Regions from separate parts of the Homo sapiens genome. Here regions 2, 3, 4 and 5 are each linked to region 1. The links are contacts of gene promoters, found by promoter capture Hi-C in human tissues and cell types (Jung and others, 2019). All regions are on one chromosome and are shown on one strand. Each heading gives the region's core, a stretch centred on a gene start or on the middle of the fragment in contact. The rest is flanking DNA. Distances are from core to core; before and after follow the strand shown. Region 1 holds the start of KITLG (KIT ligand). Region 2 overlaps CEP290 (centrosomal protein 290). Region 3 has its middle 49 kb from the start of LINC02458. Region 4 has its middle 62 kb from the start of TMTC3. Region 5 has its middle 84 kb from the start of LINC02458.

What was found. Contacts are between HindIII fragments. The study calls those that stand out against the background at their distance.
Region 2: a fragment that was not itself captured here is called in contact with the fragment with the promoter of KITLG in region 1 in 1 of the 25 tissues and cell types used here (mesendoderm cells).
Region 3: a fragment that was not itself captured here is called in contact with the fragment with the promoter of KITLG in region 1 in 1 of the 25 tissues and cell types used here (IMR-90 fibroblasts).
Region 4: a contact is called between a fragment that was not itself captured here and the fragment with the promoter of KITLG in region 1, in 2 of the 25 tissues and cell types used here (H1 embryonic stem cells and IMR-90 fibroblasts).
Region 5: a fragment that was not itself captured here is called in contact with the fragment with the promoter of KITLG in region 1 in 1 of the 25 tissues and cell types used here (H1 embryonic stem cells).

The regions. Positions count from the first base shown.
Region 1 is chr12:88,579,017-88,581,840 of GRCh38, reverse strand. KITLG (KIT ligand) reads left to right here and starts at 1,370. Exons shown (of 10, transcript NM_000899.5): 1 at 1,370-1,577. The coding sequence starts at 1,563. LOC105369885 (a long non-coding RNA gene) reads right to left here and starts at 1,305. Exons shown (of 4, transcript NR_188177.1): 1 at 1,231-1,305. It also overlaps the pseudogene RNU1-117P. The HindIII fragment of the contact is 2,929 bases long and covers 1-2,056 here.
Region 2 is chr12:88,105,472-88,108,295 of GRCh38, reverse strand. It overlaps CEP290 (centrosomal protein 290), which reads left to right. Exons shown (of 54, transcript NM_025114.4): 24 at 1,198-1,300; 25 at 1,391-1,621. Among named protein-coding and RNA genes, the nearest start is that of CEP290, 35 kb to the left of the region's middle. The HindIII fragment of the contact is 7,433 bases long and covers 1-2,824 here.
Region 3 is chr12:88,969,105-88,971,928 of GRCh38, reverse strand. No RefSeq gene overlaps it. Among named protein-coding and RNA genes, the nearest start is that of LINC02458, 49 kb to the left of the region's middle. The HindIII fragment of the contact is 5,537 bases long and covers 1-2,824 here.
Region 4 is chr12:88,202,803-88,205,626 of GRCh38, reverse strand. No RefSeq gene overlaps it. Among named protein-coding and RNA genes, the nearest start is that of TMTC3, 62 kb to the right of the region's middle. The HindIII fragment of the contact is 6,396 bases long and covers 1-2,824 here.
Region 5 is chr12:88,934,044-88,936,867 of GRCh38, reverse strand. No RefSeq gene overlaps it. Among named protein-coding and RNA genes, the nearest start is that of LINC02458, 84 kb to the left of the region's middle. The HindIII fragment of the contact is 3,251 bases long and covers 1-2,824 here.

The sequences.
Region 1 (2,824 bases), core at 121-2,620:
CTTGGAATCATGATTGATGTGCTGTCTATACATATTTTTTCTAACATGAGAAAGTGAGAACGCAGTCCCCCACTAAATTATGCAGTCGAGTTTCCCACATTTGGGGAAATCACAGAAGTCAGCACATCTGGAGTGAAATAAACAAGCTTCGCCCTGATTACAGGTTTGGCATATTCATGTTTAACAAACGCACCGGAACTAATTAAAGCAAATTTGGACTCCTACTCTATTATTAAAATAACTAATTCCTAAACTCATACATTATTCTTTCTTTTAAAGATCACTGATGTTAATGTTCAGCTAATATTTTCTTTTAAAAAATTAATGAAATGCTTTGGAATGTTCTCCAGTTATACAAACAAAAACAGACACATTCTGGAGAATCAATAAAATATTTGAAGTATTTTTTAAGACTGTACAGCTGGAGCTCCAGGTTTAAATTAGAGCTCTGCCATTTACTAGATATGGTTGGTCAAGAAAATTAACCTTGTATTTCATCGTCCATAAAATGGGAATAAAATAATAAGATCTACACTAATAGATTTGATGAAAGAATTTAATGAGATAATCTATGCGAAGTTCTTAGTCTGGCACCTGGCACATGAATAAGTGCATCACATAATGATGTTAGCTATTATTATTGTGGTTGCATTATCTTTCCGTTCAAAAAAGTACAACTTTCAAAGCCTTGCTGTGTTGGCGACCTGTAGTTTAATAATCTATCGCTTCTCTTTCAATCTTAATTTCTAAAGACACAGTAACAAACCATTCCAAATGAAGCGTCTCCCCTTGCAATACTTAACCTTGAGTCAACAATTCTTGTAATTATTAAATATTCATTCACTAAAGTAATTGTTTTTTTTAAAAAATAGAGGTGATAGGACAATGGCCTAACTACAGATCGCAATTAAACTTTATTTCTCTAAGGCAGGCAGGGTGAATTCTTTGCTCCGAACCTCCCGGACTCCTCTCCCTCTCCGACTTTGTATAACAGAGGGAGCTCCGAGCCCTCTCTGGCGCGCGAGGTATTTCGTCTGTCCCCGGGGGTGCCAGGTGAGCCCCAGCGGATCCGGGAGGGTAAGCTGGGACTCCTCGCGAGCAGTAGCTGCAGGGTACCAAGCTTCGCCCTCTGCGTCCCCGCGCCTTCGCGGTCTCCCGCCAGTGCAGGTCCGGGGCCCCCAGGCGAGCGGACAAGGTTGGCCTAATCTGCCAAACTTCTGGGGCATTTACCGTGCTCTGGCCGCCCTCCCGATTCTTCCCTCCGCGCCCTTGCCTGCTTCTCGCCTACCCCGGGCTCCGGAAGGGAAGGAGGCGTGTCCGGAGCAGGCGGGCGGGAACTGTATAAAAGCGCCGGCGGCTCAGCAGCCGGGCTTCGCTCGCCGCCTCGCGCCGAGACTAGAAGCGCTGCGGGAAGCAGGGACAGTGGAGAGGGCGCTGCGCTCGGGCTACCCAATGCGTGGACTATCTGCCGCCGCTGTTCGTGCAATATGCTGGAGCTCCAGAACAGCTAAACGGAGTCGCCACACCACTGTTTGTGCTGGATCGCAGCGCTGCCTTTCCTTATGAAGAAGACACAAGTGAGTAGGGCGCGCCCGGGAGCTCCCAGGCTCTCCAGGAAAAATCGCGCCCGGTGCCCCGGGGAAGCCGGCGCTCCCTGGGACTTGCAGCTGGGGCGTGCAGGGCTGTGCCTGCCGGGTGAGACAAGAGGATGCGGGGGAGGCCGGCGTGGTGTGTGATCCCGAGCCGAGCCGGGTGAGCCAGGGAGAAAAGGAGTGGGAGTGCTGAGAGGGAGCCAGTGTCAAGTTTGGAGCCTCAGCAGTTAAGTTTTGAGCTGTCAGTCGGAAACCGTAATTCCCGTCTGGTGGAAAGATTGGCTTTTGGGCCATGGAATGTTAAGTTATCACGGGAAGGCATGTCTTTGCATAGGAGACGGTTTTCCCGTGGATTCCAGGAGATTATGAAACAGCACCCCACGCGCCACCCTCACTAGCTCTCTCACTCAGATTTATTTGTGTAGCCCCGAGGTGGGCGCCGGGCACCAGGAGCGGCGCGAACGCGGGTGCAGCCGCGGGAGCGAAGCCAACGCGGAACTCCTAAGCGGCAGCTCTCGGCGGGGCGGGAACCTGCCCGCCTGCCCGGGAAACTTGGCTCTCGGCGGTGTCTGCCTAGTTTGCAGCTCTGTGTGGGCTCTAAAGAGCTCTAGTACCTCCACAATGCACGCACCTTTTTCCATTTCAAAAGGGATAAAGGCTTTTTATAAAATAGGCACCTCTGAATGATAGTGATTGAGATAATTCCCAGTGCTGCTAAATTCTGCATTATACATAAAGCACTGTGGGTAAAGCGCTGCCTGGGGGGACAATTAGATTTTTTTTTCCCTTGAAGAAAATACCTGGTTCTTCGTTTAGAAAGGGCCGCCACGGTGCCCCTATCCACAGTTCTCTTCACCATTGTTGATTGTTACCTCCTCTCACTTTCCCCCTTAGAAATTGTTATGTGTTATCTGCCGCGGTTGGCTAAGGGTTGCCCTTTCACCCCCCAGAGGTTCTGTTGGAGATTGCAGTTCCTGAAATGTGTGGAAGGGGTGGAAGTGGTGGGGAAAAAGGAAACCGGGGTGTTTGTACACATCGTTGGTGTAGAATGAAGGCATCAATGTGCTCAAAATGCTTTATCAAATGACCTGCTTAGCATCATATTTTAAACAGATATCTAGGCCTGCAAAAAGTTGCAAGACTCTAGCCCCTTGTACCGGTGTGGTAAAAGGCAGGGGAAAGGGACATTGCCTGGCTAAAAGAGGCTTGCATAGTCTCTAGAGCACTCTCTA
Region 2 (2,824 bases), core at 225-2,724, 470 kb after region 1:
ACATTGACTCCGATCTCATTTGCTAGAATTGGATCACATGTCCAAGTCTGAACCATTCAGTTGCAAAGAGAATGATACCGCTATACTGGGTTTATGCCAAGAACATTACACATGTTTGTGGAATGCTCATGTGTAGACAACAGTGTCTTACACAACTTCAAAAAAATAATTTATATATAAATATGTTTTAAATTACTTTTTAAATTCACAAGAATTTATGGTATACAACATGGTGTTCTATATATGTATATACTATGCTATACAACATGGTGTTCTATATATGTATATACTATGCTATACAACATGGTGTTCTATATATGTATATACTGTGGAATGGCTAAATCAAGCTACTTAACATATGTATTACCTCGCATACTTTTTTTTTTTTTTCCTTGAGACAGAGTCTTGCTCTGTCACCCAGGCTGGAGTGCAGTGGCGCTATCTTGGCTCACTGCAACCTCTGCCTCCTGGGTCCAAGTTATTTTCTTGCCTCAGCCTCCCAAGTAGCTGAGATTACAGGCATGTGCCACCACGCCTGGCTAATTTTTGTATTTTTGGTAAAGACGGAGTTTTGCCATATTGTCCACGCTAGTCTCAAAATTCCTAGCCTCAAGCAATCTGCCCACCTTGGCCTCCCAAAGTGCTGGGATTACAGCATACTTCTTCTTATTTTTTTTTTTTTTTGCACTAAGAACACTTAAAATTTACTCTCTTAGCAATTTTAAAGTATATAATATACTGTTATTAACTTTGGTCACTATTTTAATTAGACTTAAGATGTGTTTGTATTCAAATTATTTTGTAAGCATTTAACACCCAAATTTGAGAGTGGGGTCAGAATGTTGGAATTTGATTTCTAGAATTAGTATAGGGTATTATTTTCCTACTTTTTTTCTGTGTTCAATAAAATGTTTATAAGATTCAGCTTCAATTATATTATAACCCATTTAGTGGTGAATCAGGGAAGAATGAAAATAATTTGATAACTTTGTTGCCTTGCATTTATTTAAAAAATTTTTAATTCTAGGCTAAACCCTTTTTAAATGAAAGTTTAACTTCTTGTGTTTTCAGATACTGAATAGCTATGATACCTCTTGTGTTGAGAAAACTTTAAATTTGCATAATCTGAAGTTATCTTTTCTTATAAACATTTTATTAGGTTTACAGTATTGTCTTTTTGTTTTGTTTTGTTTTTAGTGAAAAGGAGACCTGGAAAACAGAATCTAAAACAATAAAAGAGGAAAAGAGAAAACTTGAGGATCAAGTCCAACAAGATGCTATAAAAGTAAAAGAATATAATGTAAGTAAAACATTTTTAACATTAGTATGCAATATTGTACAAAGTAGGATAGCTAGATTCAACAAGTAATATGGATGTGTCTTTGTGCAGAATTTGCTCAATGCTCTTCAGATGGATTCGGATGAAATGAAAAAAATACTTGCAGAAAATAGTAGGAAAATTACTGTTTTGCAAGTGAATGAAAAATCACTTATAAGGCAATATACAACCTTAGTAGAATTGGAGCGACAACTTAGAAAAGAAAATGAGAAGCAAAAGAATGAATTGTTGTCAATGGAGGCTGAAGTTTGTGAAAAAATTGGGTGTTTGCAAAGATTTAAGGTACATCTGATTCTTATTTTGCTTTTTCTGACTATGAAAAATTTCAAATATGCAGAAGATAGGATGGTATCAATAATGCTCATCACCTGAATTAATAGTTAACATTTATTAACATTTTGTCATAATTGCTTCTTCTGATTTTTGTGGGATGTTTGAATTGCAGACATTCCTCCCCTAAATATTTAATGTACCCTTTTGAAAAAGGCTTTTTTCTTTAACTAACCATAGTAACTTTATTATACCTAACAAAATGACAGTAATTTTCTAATATCGCCTAATACCCTGATTATAGTCACATTTTTTACATTTTTTGATCAAAGAATAAGCATTTGGATGTTACATCTCATAAATCTTTTTAATATAGAATCCCCTTGGTTTTCTTTTTCTCCAAAAAATGTTTGAAGATGTATCTAACTTTTGTGTGTGTGTCATTTTACTTGTTCCTGTGTCCCTTGTATTACTAAAAGTTAGGTCAGAACCCTAAGTTACATTCAGGTTTAAACATTTTTGGCAAGAATACTTCATAAGTAGTGTTCTATACTTTATATTGCATCACTTCAAGAGTATCTGGTTGTTCCATGTTTTGTAATTGATTACTCTGTTAAGGAAAAGACAAGCAGACCAAGTATGGTGGCTCATGCCTATAATTCCAACATTTTGGAAGGCCCAGGCAGGAAAATTTCCTGAGCCCAGACCAGCCTAGGCAATATAGTGAGACTCCGTCTCTACAAAAAATGTTTTTTTTTTTGTTTGTTTGTTTTTAATTAGCTTGGTGTAGTGGCACATGCTTGTAATCCCAGCTACCTGGGACATTGAGGTGGGAGGATCGCTTGAGCCCAGGAAGTTGGGGGCTGCAGTGAGCTGTGATCATGTGCCACTGATCTCCAGCCTATGTGCCTGTATAACAGAGCGAGTCTCTCTCTTAAAAGAAAAAAAGAAGAAGAAGAAGAAGAAAAGATAACCATATACCTCCATTATTAAGCAATTTAGCTAACTGGTGATATTTTGGTACCATACAAATAACAAATTATTTGTCAGTCCTAATGATTTTAGCATCTGCTGATGATTGTTGCCTAACCCAATTATTAAAAGTTGCAAACATCATAATTTTCTAGTTATATTATGCACTTACATTTATTAACAGACATGCTTTTGTAAAATAAATAGCGTTTCCTCATTAGCCCAGGCTATTTGTTTATCTTG
Region 3 (2,824 bases), core at 242-2,741, 390 kb before region 1:
TTTGGGCATGATTTTTATTTTTCTTTTAATAAGATTAAATATTAAATATTATATTTAATGTATTAAATACATAATAATAATAAGCTAATGATGAAAGTATTTTGAGCATGAAAAGCACCATCTCAGGTAGACTGTAAGGTATGAATAAGAATGCCCAAGGGTAGGCTGGGATGATTGATTCAAGACTCAAACAATTTTAATTTAAATCCTCCTTGACACAGGTTCACATAAATCAATGTCCCTGGGTCCTAACACTCTGTCTTACATTCCAGTACTTTCTGATATCTTTAGCTATTTATCTGACTTTGCTTAAAAATTCACAGCACAGAGATCAGAGGGTTACATTTCTCTTACCTATGTATACTACTCCTTTCCCAGTAATTCTGCATTTGTTAAAGGCTGATGTGCTTCTTAACACAAAGGGACTTGATTTATTCTGAGCCTTGAACTCTCCCTAAGGAAAAAAAGAATAATGAACAGCATTCTGAAATACTTTGATTAGTTGTGGATTAGATACTGGTTTGTGTAACTTGTTTATGAAACTATAAATCCTAGAGGGAAAAAAAAAGTGAGCTGAATATGTTAGGTGCTTAATAGACGTGGTTTGTCAATGGGAACATCCGGACATAAAGATGGAAATAATAGACTGAGGACTCCAAAAGGGGGTCAGTGGGAAGAGGGTGAGGATTGCAAAATTACCTATTGGTTACCATGTTCAATATTTGGGTAATGGGTACACTAGAATTCTAATCCCTACCAGTATGCAATATCATGTAACAAACATTCATATGTACCCCCTGAATCTTAAATGAAATAAAATTTTAAGAATGTAGTTTGTGATTTGATGAAATATATTCTCTATTCTCAGACTTCCTCCTCTAAACACACAAAGTTCAACCTAGGCAGTCACTGTTTTTATTTTGGCTCTGAATTAAGCCTTGACTACTTTAACTGGCATGTTCTGCAGAATAACAGGGCCACACCCTGAGGTCCTGCAGCCCCTTATAGTATAGGATTTCCTCTCTGCAAGGCCAAAAAGTCACTGCATTTGCTATTGTGATGGCTTATTATATTAAGAACTCTCCACCCTGTAAACAAGGCAATCTAAAATATATTGACGCAAATTATAAACAAAAGTAATCCTGTATAAATGTTTCAGACAGTGTCTTAAAGGGATCTATGTTTATTTGTGAAGCTGAACTTGATATTTATACACAGCCTTTACTTTTTTTTGTTGTTGTTTTCAGGTTTCTTTAGACAGTTACTGCATAAACCTTCCTGGCTCTCATAAACTGTTGTTCTGAACACCATATTTTCTTCCTTCCTATCTGTGTTATAAACAATATAAATTTTACCAACTCATCCATGTTTTAAACCTGAGCTGTCTAATATGCTAGCCACTAGCTACATCTGGCTACTGAATACTCAAAATGCAGCTAGTATGAATTGTGATGTGCTCTAAGTGTAAAATACACACTGTATTGGTCAGGGGCCTCTAGAGGGGCAGAACTAATAGGATAGATGTACATATCAAAGGGCGTTTATTAAGGAGAATTGACTCACATGATCACAAGGTGAAGTTCCACGATAGGCTGTCAGCAAGCTGAGGAGCAAGGAAGCCAGTAGTATCTCAGTCCAAGTCCCAAAACTTCAAAAATAAGGAAGCCAACAGTGCAGCCTTTAGTCTGTGGCAAACCACTGGTGTAAGTCCAAGAGTCAAAAAGCTGAAGAATTTGGAGTCAGATGTTTGAGGGCAAGAAGCATCCAGCACAGGACAAAGATGAAGGCCGAGACTCAGCAAGTCTGCTCTTCCACCTTCTCCTACCTGCTTTATTTTAGCCACGCTGGCAGCTGATTAGGTGGTGCCCAGCCAGATTGAGGGTGAGTCTGCCTCTAGCAGTCCACTGACTCAAATGTTAATCTCCTTTGGCAACACCCTCATAGACACAGCTAGGATCAACACTTTGCTTTCTTCAATCCATTCAAGTTGACATTCAATATTAACCATCACACACACTAAATTTCAGACTTAGTACAACAAAAGATTATTAAAAATGTCATTAATATTTTATATTGATTACATGTTTCAATGATATTTGAAATATATCAAATTAAATAAAACATTAAATTGATTTCAGTTGTTTCTTTTTCTTTTAAAAAATATTGCTACTTGAATATTTTAAGTTAAATATGTGGCTCACATTATATTTCCACTAGAAAAAATTTTATGAACAATACAGATCATTACCAATGATATGTCATGTCTGGAGTACAGAGTTAACAATCAAATAATTTAATGACTATTCTGTCAATAGTTTTTAGGAATAAAACACTTTTTTTGAGACAGACTCTCACTCTGTCGCCCAGGCTGGAGTTCAAGGTGTGATCTTGACCCACTGCAACCTCTGCCTCCTGGGTTTAAGCGATTCTCCTGCCGCAGCCTCTCAAGTAGCTGGAATTACGGGTCTCTGAACCAAACAGTGCTATACTTCTTCTTTCTGGCACACAGTCAGACTACACAGAGAGCGCTAGTAAGTCCCAGTGGACTCTTACTGTAACCTGAGATAGAGCTAGTAAGTCCATTGGGAGCATGTGACTGAGTTCTCACCAATGGAAATGTGGAGAGAAGTGATGTTTCTCTTCCGGTCCAAGGTTGCTGAAGGCAGAATAGGAGTTCTCCACATTTTCTCTCTCTTTTCTATGTGGTTGAAAATAAATTCAGAAACAGTTCAGAAATGGGAGTTGCCCAGATCCCTAAAATACCAGGAGGGGAAAATTACCAAACAGAGCCACCTAACCTGCATCAGGTTGTGACATGAATACA
Region 4 (2,824 bases), core at 187-2,686, 380 kb after region 1:
CAAAAGCAAGTTAGTTACTTCCTAGATACAATGGGGCTGCAGGCATTGGGTAAATACAGCCATTCCAAATGGGAGAAATTGGCCAAAACAAAGGGGCTAAAGGCCCCATGCAAGTCCAAAATCCAGCAGGGCAGTCAAATCTTAAAGCTCCAAAATGATATCCTTTGACTCCATGTCTCACATGCAGGTCACACTGATTCAGGAGATGGGTTCTCATGGTCCTGGGCAGCTCTGCCTCTGTGGCTTTTTGGGGTACAGCCTCCTTCCTGGCTGCTTTCATGGGCTGGTGTTGAGTGTCCACAGCTTTTTCAGGTGCACAATGCAAGCTGTTGGTAGATCTACCATTCTGGGTTCTGGAGGATGGTGGCCCTCTTCTCACAGCTCCACTAGGCAGTGCCCCAGTAGGGACTCTGTGTGGAGGCTCCAACCCCACATTTCCCTTCTGTCCTGCCCTAGCAGAGGTTCTCCATGAGGGCCCTGCCCCAGCAGCAAACCTGCCTGGGCATCCAGGCGTTTCCATACGTCTTCTGAAATCTACTCGGAGGTTCCCAAACCTCAATTCTTGACTTCTGTGTACCTGCAGACTGAACAACATGTGAAAGTTGCAAAGGCTTGGGGCTTGTAGCCTCTGAAGCCATGGCCCGAGCTGTACCTTGGTCCCTTTTAGTCATGGCTGGAGTGGCTGGAACACAGGACACCAAGTCCCTAGGCTACACACAGCACAGACACTCTGGGCTTGGCCCACTAAACCATTTTTTTTTTCCCTAGACCTTCAGGTCCATGATGGGAAGGGCTGCCATGAAGACCTCTGACATGCCCTGGAGACATTTCCCACATTGTCTTGGGGATTAATTTGGCTTCTAGTTACTTATGTAAATTTCTGCAGCTGGGTTGAATTTCTCCTTAGAAAATGGGATTTTCTTTTCTACTACACTGTCAGGCTGCAAATTCTGCAAACATGTATGCTCTTTTTCACTTTAAAAACTAAATTCCTTTAACAGCACACAAATCACCTCTTGAATGCTTTGCTGCTTAGAAATTTCTTCTGCCACATACCCCAAATCATCTTTCTCAACGTCAAAGTTCCACAGATCTCTAGGACAGGGGAAAAATGCCTCCAGTCTCTTTGCTAAAACATAACAAGAGTCACCTTTGCTCCAGTTCCCAACAAGTTCCTCATCTCCATCTGAGACCACTTCAGCCTGGATTTCATTGCTCATATCATTATCAGCATTTTGGTCAAAGCCATTCAACAAATCTCTAGGGAGTTCCAAACTTTCCCACATTTTCCTGTCTTCTGAGCCCTCCAAACTGTTCCAACCTCTGCCTGTTACTCAGTTCCAAAGTTGTTTCCACATCTTTGGGTATCTTTTTAGCAGCACCCCACTCTACTGGTACCAATTTACTGTATTAGTCTGTTTTCACACTGCTGATAAAGACATACTCGAGACTGGGCAATTTACAAAAGAAAGAGGTTTAATGGACTTAGTTCCACGTGGCTGGGGAGGCCTCACAATCATGGCGGGAGATGAAAGGCACATCTCACATGGTGGCAGACAAGAGAAGAGAGCTTGTTTAGGGAAACTTCTCCTTATATAATCATTAGGTCTCATGAAATGTATTCACTGTGATGAGAACAGCACAGGACAGACCTGCCCCCATGATTCAATTACCTCCCAGACAAACCATATCAGTATGGAAAACCATGGGGTCCTGGCAGATGCCTGCTGCATGGGTGGAGCCCTCACAGAGAACTTCTACTAAGGTAGTGCAGAGGGGAAATGTGGGGTTGGAGGCCCCACCCAGAATTTTCACTTGGGACACTGCTTAGTGAAACTGTGGGAAGGGAAGAAGACCAGTATCTTCCAGGCCTGAACATGGTTGATCCACTGGAGACTTTCACCCTTCATTTGGAAAGCCACAGACACTTGACTCCAACCCATGAGAGCAGCCTCAGGGGCTAAATCCTGCAAAGCTCCATTGGGTAGAGGTGCCCAAGGTCTTGGGAGCCCACCCCTCATATCAGTGTGCCCTGGATATGGGACATGGAGTCAAAGGAGATTATGTTGGAGTTTTATGATTTAATGATGGGCCTGCTGGATTTCGCAGTTGTGAGGGGCCTGTAGCTCCTTTCTTTTGGGCATTTTCTCCCTTTTGGAATGGGAATGTTTACCCAATGTCTGTATCTCCATTGTATCTTGGAAGTAAATAATTTGTTTTGATTTTACAGGCTCATAGGTAGAAGGGACTTGACCTGGAAATTTTGAGTTAATGCTGGAATGAGTTAAGACTTTTGCGGACTATTGGGGAGGCATGATTATATTTAGCAATGTGAGAAGAACATGAAATTTGGGGGGCCAGGGATGGATTGACATAATTTTGATATTTGTCCCCCCAAATCTCATGTTCAACTGTAATCTCTAATGTGGGAGGTGACTGGACCATAAAGGTGAATTTCTTATTAATGGTTTAGCACCATCCACTTGGTGATCTCCTCACTAGTGAGTGAGTTATCATGAGATTTAGTTGTTTAAAAAGTGTGTGGTGCTTCCCCCACTCCTATTGCTCCTGCTCTTGCCATATGGTGTGCCTGCTCCTGCTTCACCTTCTACCATAAGTAAAAGCTCCCTGAGCCCTCCATAGAAGCCAAGCAGATGCCAGCACCATGCTTATACATTGTGAGCCAATTAAACCTCTCTTTTAAAATAAATTACTCAGTCTGTTTTTTTTTTCCACACCAATGCAAGAATGCCCTAATAGTCTTTTCTTTTTACTATAGTTATTTTAAAGTATTTGGTAACCTTAGTATTTATTCGGATAATTG
Region 5 (2,824 bases), core at 191-2,690, 350 kb before region 1:
TAGAACATAATGGATCCCATAGGGAACATAGAACACATGGAAGAATATAGAGAAAGATATGGAATCAAATGCACCATTTTATTTAAGTGAAAATGGTGAAGAAGGTGGAGAAGGAGATTATTTAAACGATTTAAAAATATTTGTGCTTTCTTACTTGTTCTGAGTACATTCTCCTTTACAATTAACAAAAATTAAGAAAATTTGGCAAAATACTTCATTTTATTTCCCACACAGCGTTTCCTCATAAAGTCTCGTAAAACGTAAACTTGTCTATTTAGATAGAAATACCTCATCAGATTTACTATCTATACTAAACTTATTAGTAATTCTTCATATAGCTTCTTTCGTCCCCAAATTCCCAAACACCTTAGAAACATTGTCTGGGAGCTCTTTCAATGAGATAACGTGTTCAGAGATGGTAAATGGAGTGGGTACTGCCACTCCTTGTTGCCATCTCCTAGCAGACACACCCTGCCCTCCACCCATTCCCATGGATCCTGCTGTAGTCAGAGTGAGATTCAACAGTGGTCTTGAGGCTTTTTTCTATGAACCAACCAGAATTGAAGGGGAAACGACACCATTTACTCTTCCTGGGCGAGTAAAAACAGCATGTATTGGGGTATGAATCACACATTTATCCTTGTGTGACCTGGAGTACGTTAGTAAGCCTGTCAGAACTTTAGTTTCCTATAAATTTGGACATTATCTCCTTGAAAATTTTCTTATGAAGAGTAAGTGAAATCTTATTCTAACTGCAAGGCCCCTTTGTCATCTCTCTATATTTGCTTATATCCAGTTAAGGCTTTGGCTTAAAGTGCTTACTATGAAAGTAGCTTAAAGAGCTTAAAGTAGATTAAAGTAGCTTAAAGTAGCTCAAAGTAGCTTAAAGAGCTACTTTGCTCTTATTTATGCTTGGTCCTTCATTCATGCATTTGGATGTATGGCTGAGTGGAAGACATCGATTCCGTTTGATCTGGAAAACAATGATTCTCATTTTCTATCCATTATACCCATTGTCTCTTGGGCAATGTCACCAGGAACAGCTCTGCCAAAATTTATGATCCTCAATCCTGCTTATCTGTTGGCAATGTTTCATTGACAATCACCCATCTGGTTAAATACCACTCAGACTTCATTCTCATGTTACATTCACCTTGAGCTTTCTTAGCAGATTCTAAATTATTTTAACTTCTTTTTGCCTCCACTATGTACTGAAAGCCTTTGGCAAGTGCCTAAAATATGTATTTTGGGTTACATAAGAAATACTCTACTGGAGTTGATATGAACTCCAATGGAGGCAAATGAACAAATCCAGAATAGCGCCTAGAAGATTAGAAGATGTCAGGTTCTCATCTATCCATCTATCCATTCATTCATCCACCCCTTTCCAACTGAGTGCATAAATACTCAGTGGTAGACCCAGAAATAGATGTTGGAGATTTAACAGTCAATAAGACTGACAAATTCCCTTCCTTCTCTTGTGGAGTCTCTAGTGAGAGAAAACAGGCAAAAAATAATTGACACTAAACAAGTAAATAATGTGATTTTAGTTCTAAGTGCTATGGAAAAAAATAGAGAGCACATGAAAACAAGAAGACTATCTTCAAGCCAGAAAGTAAAAATGCTTAGATTTAGTGATCAAACTAGAGTTCTAGAAAACAGGAAGCTAGCAAGATGGGGAGAAGTAATCAGATCTCAGGTGATTGAAAATAACATAGTGACCAGCAGAATACACTGAAATCGGCCAGATGCAAAGGAATGATTACCCTCAATCTGTCTTTCAGCTTCTAGCTGGGAAGAAATTTCTTTCAGGTTCTGGACCAATAGGTGGGTAGGAGTGAGGAAAATGGCTACATCTAATTAAGGAAAGACTGCCGGAGAAGTAGGAAGGATTTTCTTTCCAGGATGTTCTGGATCTAGTACATATTTGGCAGGTTTTCATAATTTTCTTTATATTAGAAAGTGGATCAAAGGTCAGGTATGATTATTGCACAAACATAAAAAAAAATTCCCTCCTCTGGGGGTGTCACAAATGAAGCCCCTTACGAATTCTTCACACGGGTTACAGGCATTATCACAATGCTTAGGCATATGATAAAACTACAGCAACAAATTAGGTGCAATTAAACGTTTTCAACTCTCTCACACACCTGAAACCAAAGCTATGAAAAAAGAGGCATATCCCAGGTAATTAATTGCCAAGAAACATTTAATGATCTCTCCTCTGCTACATTTAACATGAGTCATGAGTGCTTTGTTCCAACTTAGTCATAAAGTTCCCTGGAGCCAAGGGCATGTTACTACGGCACACTAAAGGAAAAAAACCCTAAACACAGAGCTTAATTAATTTTCAACTTCTGCCACACAACTTCACACCTGAATTCCTTATCCTTTGGGCATACTTAATATAACCACAATGCACTGTAGTAACACCTACTTTATAGGCAGAACTTTCATCTACCCACAGTTTCCTCTTCTTTGTAAAACCATTTGGCTGACCATCACAAAATGGCAGTAACCAAGCTTCTCTCTTTGCAGCCTGACAGGTCAAGCACCCTACTAAATTCAAGAAAGAGACTGTTTTATACCATTATTTTGCTCTAATAACAGAGTGGGAACTCCTTTAATGTTAAGATTCTCTAGAGAAGGATGTTGTTTTAAAAGTATTGACCCACGAGAAGCAAAGGTACCTGGCAACTTTCAAAATGTGTGATATATTTGTGTCAGCTTTTTCTCCCAGGCCCGTTCTGTCTTTTGAGCATATTGAAAGAAAGCCTATCTTTTTTTTTTTAATCCAAATATGTAGCAGATGGGATGGTGGATA